2 separate regions of the Homo sapiens genome follow, and region 1 is linked to region 2. The links are contacts of gene promoters, found by promoter capture Hi-C in blood cells and fetal thymus (Javierre and others, 2016). All regions are on one chromosome and are shown on one strand. The core of a region is centred on a gene start or on the middle of the fragment in contact, and the rest is flanking DNA. Distances in the headings are between cores, read along the strand shown. Region 1 holds the start of NECAP2 (NECAP endocytosis associated 2). Region 2 holds the start of DDI2 (DDI proteasomal shuttling factor 2).

Region 1 (3,991 bases), core at 951-3,450, 820 kb before region 2:
TTGAGACGGGGTCTCACTCTGTCACCCGGGCTGAAGTGCAGTGGCGCAACTACGGCTCACTGAAGCCTCAACCTCCTGAGCTCAAGAGATCCTCCCACCTCAGCCTCCTGAGTAGCTGGGACTACAGGTGTGTACCAACACACCAGGCCAATTAAAAAAAATTATAGAGATAGGGTCTATGTTGCCCAGGCTGGTCCTGAAGTCTTGGGCTCAAGGGATCCTTCCACCGAGGCTTCCCAAAGTGTTGGGATTACAGGCGTGAGCCACCACAGCCAGCTGTTTTGACTCTTTTAAAGCATTAACTTCACATTTTAGTTCTAAGAAAAGGTCAGTTAAATCCCCAAATAGCAAGAACCGCAGGTGTTTCCAGGAGGCTTTTCTTAGAAGTCCCTATGCCAGTTCTCAAGAACCCTGGACGCGGCTGTCTTGAGGGCTGCACAAATGCAGATTCTCAATTCACAAATCAGCAGACTCAGTTCCTGTTCCTCTTACCAGGCCTGAGATTCAGGCTAAGGAGAGCTCCAAGACTTAAGTGCAGGCACTGGTAGTTTCCTCTAAGCTAAACCAGCCAGCCCTGACAATTCATAACCTCGCTCTCTGGGGCACCAAGAGGAACCAAATCCATCCTACTAAAGACCCAATAGGGGGCCGGGCGCGGTGGATCCTGCCTGTAATCCCAGCACTTTGGGAGGCCGAGGCGAGTGGACCACCTGAGGTAGGGAGTTCGAGACCAGCCTGACCAACATGGAGAAATCTCATCTCTACTAAAAACACAAAATTAGTCGGGTGTGGTGGTGTATGGCTGTAATCCCAGCTACTCGGGAGGCTGAGGCAGGAGAATCGCTTGAATCCGGGAGGCGGAGGTTGCAGTGAGCCGAGATCGCACCATTGCACTCTAGCCTGGACAACAAGAGGGAAACTCTGTCTCAAAAAAAAAAAAAAAAGACCCAACAGGAGATGGGGCTAGACGACCATCAATGGTTTGATGGTCCAACCACAGTTTGATGACAGAAAACAAATGTATTTTGGTTATTGTTGTTTTTGTTTTTATACTATTTTAAAATATGTCATGAATGTAATGTTCACTAACGCATCTTTTCACCATAAGATCAGCTATGAGCCCACGGTAACACAACTGGAAAGTAACAAGAGGAAATGTGGACGTTCCATCATTCTTGGGGTGCAGACCAATCCTGTATTTCCGAAAAACTTGGACAACCATCGCCTTCAAGAGCCACCCAGGCCCCCGCAAATACGAGCACTCCCCACCACCACTCAGTGGCACAAAATAGCCATAGGCCAGGTTGTCTGTATGAAGTGTATCTTTTTTCTTTTAATATTTTTCGTCGTTTTGATAGATAACGCATACAAAGAGTAGTAAAACGCAAACAGCACAAAAGGGAAAGGAAGTTTCCTTCCAAGGGCGGTTCCCCTCCCCTAGGGCAGTTTCCTGTGTTCCTTTGCAGAGATACTCAGTATGTTTACAAGCGTGTGTGTTTATTCGTCTCAGGTAGAGACCAGAGAAATATAGAAGGGGTCCTCCCAACTGCTCCAGGCTGTGATCAAGGGTGAAATTCGTGCGAAGGGATCTGGGTAGGAAGGGGTCCCTGGGCTTCGACCGTCACCTTAAAGCTCCCCGGGACCGGTCCTTTCAGCCGGCTCTGGGCTCCCTCCCCTCCTCTCGGGGATTTCCGTCTGTGATAGGGCACCTCCCCGCTTAAGGCTTTTCGAGGATCCCTTCAAGGCCACCGGTTAGCGCTGAAAGAGAAGCGTCTGTGACATCACCACCCCCGACCAAGTTTAGGGTACCCGGCAGCCCACCGGGGTCCCTAAGCGCTAGATACGGCTTTAACGCCCTCCCCGCCGCCAGGAGTCCCGTGCGTCGAACTGAGACGGGCGAAACTCTGGATCCACCTCCCTGCTCGGGCCTGGAACTGGAAGAAGCAGCAGCATTAGCTCCCCCTCGCCCCAAAACTGGCCAGGGCTGTCCTCGGTTCCCGCAGTGGGTGTGTCCGGGTGGCGGAGAAAGGGTTAAATTGGAGCTAGCCTGGTCTGGCGGTGGGTAGTCACCTGTAGCCACGGTTGGTAGCCCGCGGAGGGATGCGGTAGACGTGGACGTCAGGCTTGACACAGAGCACCGACTCGTACCCGCTCTCCTCCATCGCGACGCCTGGAGCCCACCGAACTTCCGGCGACTTCCACCGTTCCTCTGTCCGACGGACGGAAGCGGTGCGACTCTCTGACCAGGTTTCGGCTAGAGCGGCAGCTCGCGGGCCTCAGCACCGCCTCGTTTGTGCGCCCTCTGCTGGAAACCCGGCTCAAGACACGTGGCGGGCGACCTCCGGAGGCTTCTCCCTCCCTCCAGAGGCTTCTCCTTCCCTCCAGACACCCTCCGACGCAAAGAAAGCGCCCTGCGCCCGCCATGGACAGACCCCTCTGTAACCCGTGGTCTGGGTGTGGATCATCCCCATCGCTTCAGTTTCTTAGGCCTGGGGCCCAGTTGACCGAGAGGCAAAGCTGTAGCCCACCCTGCAGTATCTCTGTCCTCCAGCCTTTGCCTCGGCGCCTCCTCTGCCTGAATATCCTTCCCTCTCCTGACTGTAAGGCTCAGCTGGCACCTGACCCACCAGACTAAATAGATGCCATTACCCTACCACCCTCCATGCTTCCCCTAGGGGAACCCACTTATATGCTCAGGGCCCCGTGTGGCCAAACCTCAACAACGAGTTGTATTCAAAGAAGTAAAGTTTAGTAACACAAGTAATTTAAGAAGAATTCCAGGCCGGGCTTGGTAGCTCACGCCTGTAATCCCAGCACTTTGGGAGGCTGAGGCGGGCGGATCACCTGAGGTCAGGAGTTCGAGACCAGCCTGGCCAACATGGTGAAACCCCGTCTCTACTAAAAATACAAAAATTAGCCGGGCTTGGTGGCGTGTGTCTGTAGTCCTAGCTAGTTGGGAGACTGAGGCACTAGAATCGCTTGAACCCGGAATGCGGAAGTTGCAGTGAGCTGAAATTGTGCCACTGCACCTCAGCCTGGGTGACAGAGCGGGACTCTGTCTCAAAAAAAAAAAAAAAGAAGAAGAAGAATTCCAGTCTTAACTTCGATTTCTCCCAGAATATTCTGGGAGATACAATGTCTACCCTAGCCAAATTCTCAAAATCCCTCCTTCCCTACCATTCTCTCATTGAGTTGAGTGCCTGCAATGTGCCAGCCCCTATGTGGGGGTGAAGCTGATCCCAAACTTCTGATTCACTGAATACCCCAAACTTTCCCCACCCCTTCTTTCCTTTTCTCTCTCACTCTCCTTCTCCTTTTTACTTTTTTTTTTTTTTTTCTTCAGACAAAGTCTCACTCTGCCGCCCAGGCTGGAGTGCAGTGGTGCAATCTCGGCTCACTGCAACCTCCACCTCCCGGGTTCAAGCGATTCTCCTGCCTCAGCCTCCCGAGTAGCTGGGATTACAGGCACCCACCACCAAGCCTGGCTAGTTTTTGTATTTTTTTGGTAGAGACGGGGGTTTCATCTGGTTGGCCAAGCTGATCTTGAACTCCTGACCTCAAGTGATCCGCCCACTTCGGCCTCCCAAGTGCTGGGATTACAGGCGTGAGCCACCACGACTGGCCATTTCTACTCATTTTTTATAAGCTTTTTATTATAGGATTGATCTAACCACTTACATTTTTATTGTAAAATATACATAACATAAAATTTACCATTTTAAGTGTACAATGCTGTGAAATTAAGTACATTCACAATATTGTGCAACTATATCATGCTTTCCAGAACTTTTCATCATCCCAAACAGAAACTCCACACCCATTAGCAATAACTTCCCATTTCCTTCTGCTCCATCCCTTAGTAACCTCTGTTTTACTTTCTGTCTCTATGAATTTGCCTTTTCTAGATACCTCTTATAAGTGGAATCATACAATATTGGGCTTTTGTGTTTCTTATTTCACTTAGCATCAAGTTTTCAAGGTTCTTTCATGT
Region 2 (3,957 bases), core at 1,113-3,612:
CTACCAGCCGGTGATCATAACCAGGGTAATATAACAGCTAGAGGAAAAAACAATTGAAAAAGCCACTATCGGGCCGGGTGCGGTGGCTCACAGCACTTTGGAAGGCCGAGGCGGGCAGACCACGAGGTCAGGAGATCGAGACCATCCTGGCTAACATGGTGAAACCCCTTCTCTACTAAAAATACAAAAAATGAGTCGGGCGCGGTGGTGGGCGCCTGTAGTCCCAGCTACTCGGGAGGCTGAGGCAGGAGAATGGCACGAACCCGGGAGGTGGAGCTTGCAGTAAGCCGAGATCGCGCCACTGCACTCCAGCCTAGGCGACAGAGACTCCGTCTCGAAAAAAAAAAAAGAAAAGAAAAGAAAAGAAAAAGCCACTATCAAAAATTGAAGAGTTGTCCGGGAACGGTGGCTCACACCTGTAATCGCAGCATTTTGGGAGGCCGAGGCGGGCAGATCACTAGAGGTCAGGAGTTTGAAATCAGCCTGGTCAACATGGTGAAACCCCGTCTCTACTAAAAAAAAATTACAAAAATTAGCCAGGCGTGGTGGCGCGCGCCCGTAGTCCCAGTTACTCAGGAGGCTGAGGCAGGAGAATCGCTTGAACCCGGGAGACTGGGGTTGCAGTGAGTCGAGAACGCACCACTGCACTCCAGCATGGGCGACAGAGCAAGACTCCGTCTCAAAAACAAAAACAAAAAAAGAAAAAAAATTGAAGAGTTTATTTTCTCTATTTAAACAGTCCTTTCCTAGTTCTCCACATGAGGCATTCACTGACAGAACTGGTTCCTGAGCTTTTGTGGATTAACTTTTTAAATTCTTTCTGAACAGCTTTATGCCAAGGTTCTAAAGTTCACATTGTGTAAAGGAATCATACTTCTGAACAAAGTATTGACACGTGTTTACCATAAGACAGCAGAACAAGCTGCAGTTGGGCAATCGTTTTGTAAACTATTTCATAACTGCAGTAGAAAATCAAGATTTACTTGATGGAGACTTGGGAGACCTCTATAATTTTCTTAATGTTTAGACTATTTCCTCCAGGCTAAATTTATTAAGTCATGATCTAAGTGTTTTAGTGTAAAGTTTACAGCGTTAGTGTCACCGATTCTGTTTGATAAAGACTAGGGGCAGCCCCAAAGCATTTTGAGAATTACTTTGCTTAGTTAAAATATGAGAGGCTGAACTTCTTTCCAGCAAGCTGAGTAGGGAAATGAAACCACCAAACAGCACTGATACTAGGCCGTTTCCAAGCAAATATCCTTTTAAAGCATTGAGCTTTGAACTGACCCAAACTCTGAACTGTGACCTGAAAGAAAAAGGGCCTTCTGGCTTACTACCAGGGTAGAACCGAAACAAACAAACAGCTTGAGTTGAACCAATAGGTACTGTTTTTCAAAAGAATTTAACCAGAAACGCATGTGGTGGGTAAAGAGCATTTCCAAAGACCCCAAAATGAGGTAGTGCAAGTCTTAAACTTTTTCTTTCACCGGAAGTGCAAATCTGTGCATTTAAAGGTAAACTGCGTATATTTAAGCAGAAACCCTCTCCAGAAAAAAAAAAAAAAAAAAGCAGAGGAACATCTATCTACCACAGTGATCCAAACTGGTATTTCTGGTTTGCAGGATGTATGAATCCTAGCAAACCCAGGGCTGCTTCTGAGGTCCACAACGATATCCTACACTCGGGATTAGAAACAGGGAAGGGCCAAAGAGCCAAAGGTGGGGAGGGTTAGCGCTGCTCAACAGTCCACGCGCCCCTCACGCTGCAGTGGGTGCGTCTGCGGTCAGGTTCTCCGCTCCCTCTCCTCGTACCCCACCCCATGCTCGGAGTGTGTGAGGGCAGCTACTGATGCCAGCTCCCCAGCTCCTTTCCGGATGCGGGGGTGACCTGAGAATGGCTATCCTTGCTCCCCCCAGCCCCCAATTCTTCACCAGTAGCAAAGGGAGGGAGTGAGGCCCCGAGGCGGGGAGGGCTTAGCTCCGGGGCAGGCCCGGCTCGCTGCCCGGCGTACCTGGCTCTCGGCTGCGGGGATGCCAGACTCGAGCTCGCACAGCGCGCGGAAGTTGTGCAGCTCGAAGTCGGCGTCGACCTGGAGGGAAAAGGTCACCTCGGAGAGGTCCCTCCGCACACAGTACACGGTGAGCAGCATGGCCCGGGCCCGACCCGGCTCGGCTCGGCTCGGCCCGGCCTGGGCGCGGGGCGCAGGGGAAGAGGCGGCGGCGTGGCCTGGCTGGTGCTGCGGGAGGACGGCGCCGGCTGCTCGTTCGCTCGCTCGCTCCCTCCCTCACACACGCTCAGTGAGTCACTCCCTCCCGCCCTCACTAGCAAGCACGGCCGCCGCCACACGCCTGCGAGTCCGTCTGCCTGCCGGCCTGCCTCCCACGGCTGCCGCCAAGCGCGCCGGCCGCCCGGCGCCCCGCCCCGCCGCAACGCGGCTGCCGTAAAGCCCGCCTCGCCTTCCCCGCCTTCGCAACGCAGCGGGGGGCGGGGCCGGGAAGAGGAGGAGGAAGCCAGGAGAGGATAGGAGGGGGAGGAGTGGGAAGGGGGCGTGGAAGAGGAGAGGGAGGAAGGGCAAGAAAAGGGGAGGGAAGGAAAGGAACGCGGAGAAGGAAATCTCTGCTGACTGGTTGACTTAATGACAGAAGTCTGTGGAGGAGTCCCCGGTCTTATTTATTCACCGAACAGGCATTGATTAAGCGCCTACCATGTGTCGGGCGCTGGCGATGCAGAAATGAATAAAAGGATAAATCCTTCTCCGTAACTCTCAATCTAGTACAGGAGTTAGTAATAAAACATATTTTTCGAGGTAGAAATTGAGGCTCCGACAGAGTAATTCACTTCCTGTCTTAGTGATTTAGGATTGAAACCAAAATCATTACCCTCCCTAGTCTACAGAAGCCAGTTGGCTGTGGCCCACGCCTACCTCCCCAGCCCCTTCTTCCGAGCTCTTCCCACATTCTCTGCCCTCCCAGCCACATAGGTCAGTTCCTCCAAGGCTCCATTCCCCTGTCTTGTAAATAATTTTCTCTCTACTTGGACTGTGTCTGTTTCCTAGCCCTAGCAACTCCTACCACCTAGCGCAGTGCCTTTTTGGGCACAGCTTAGAATCTACTCAATAAATATTTGCTACTTTAATGGCCTGTTTTTAAGGCACACAGCTGATGAGTGGTAGAGGCCCAGAACTAAGGTGCGGATGAGTAAGAAAACCAAAACTGAAAGATGAACTTGTAATGGATGCCAGATTAGCATCTTTCCATTTACTCCCACTCCCCCTCCATGGTAGGGAGCCCTTTTCCATTTTAACAGGAGAGAAGGAGCAAATAAGATGGCTGTGGGTGCAGGTAAGTAGGTAGTAAGTAGGCTGTTGGTGGCAGGAAAGGGAGAATTAGCAGCTGAAGGCTTTTACAAAGAGAAATTAGAGGAGCTGGGCGCGGTGGCTCACGCCTGTAATCCCAGCACTTTGGGAGGCCAAGGCGGGCGGATCACAAGGTCAGGAGTTCGAGACCAGCTTGGCCAATATGGTGAAACCCCGTCTCTACTAAAAATACAAAAATTAGCCGGGCATGGTGGCGGACACCTATAGTCCCAGCTACTCGGGAGGCTGAGGCAGGAGGGTCACTTGAACGCGGGAGGCGGAGGTTGTAGTGAGCCGAGATCAGGTCACTGCACTCTAGCCTGGGAGACAGAGCGAGACTCTGTCTCAAAAAAAAAAAAAAAAAAGAGAAAGTAGAGGCACAGGGGAGTGAGAATGCTTATATCCCCTAGGAGCAACAGAAAGCTTGACTATCAGTGGCTTAAACAAACAAGGGTTTGTTTTCTCACAGGAGAGAAGGCCTGGAGGTAGCAACAGCACTGGTTGAGTGGCTCACTGAAATCAGGGCCAATACTTTTGTAATTGTCTTGACCTTTTCCTGAGGGTTGCAATATATGGCTGGCTGCCTCCACTGCACGCATCAT

The links. Contacts are between HindIII fragments. The CHiCAGO score rates a contact against its expected background, and 5 or more counts as called.
Region 1: a contact is called between the fragment with the promoter of NECAP2 here and the fragment with the promoter of DDI2 in region 2, in 2 of 17 cell types (activated CD4 T cells and total CD8 T cells). The highest score is 5.5, in activated CD4 T cells.

The regions. Positions count from the first base shown.
Region 1 is chr1:16,438,933-16,442,923 of GRCh38, reverse strand. It overlaps NECAP2 (NECAP endocytosis associated 2), which reads right to left and starts at 2,200. Exons shown (of 8, transcript NM_018090.5): 1 at 2,071-2,200. The coding sequence starts at 2,162. The HindIII fragment of the contact is 8,327 bases long and covers 1-3,648 here.
Region 2 is chr1:15,615,863-15,619,819 of GRCh38, reverse strand. It overlaps DDI2 (DDI proteasomal shuttling factor 2), which reads right to left and starts at 2,362. Exons shown (of 10, transcript NM_032341.5): 1 at 2,012-2,362. The coding sequence starts at 2,149. RefSeq lists a silencer at 2,039-2,608. The HindIII fragment of the contact is 6,323 bases long and covers 1-3,780 here.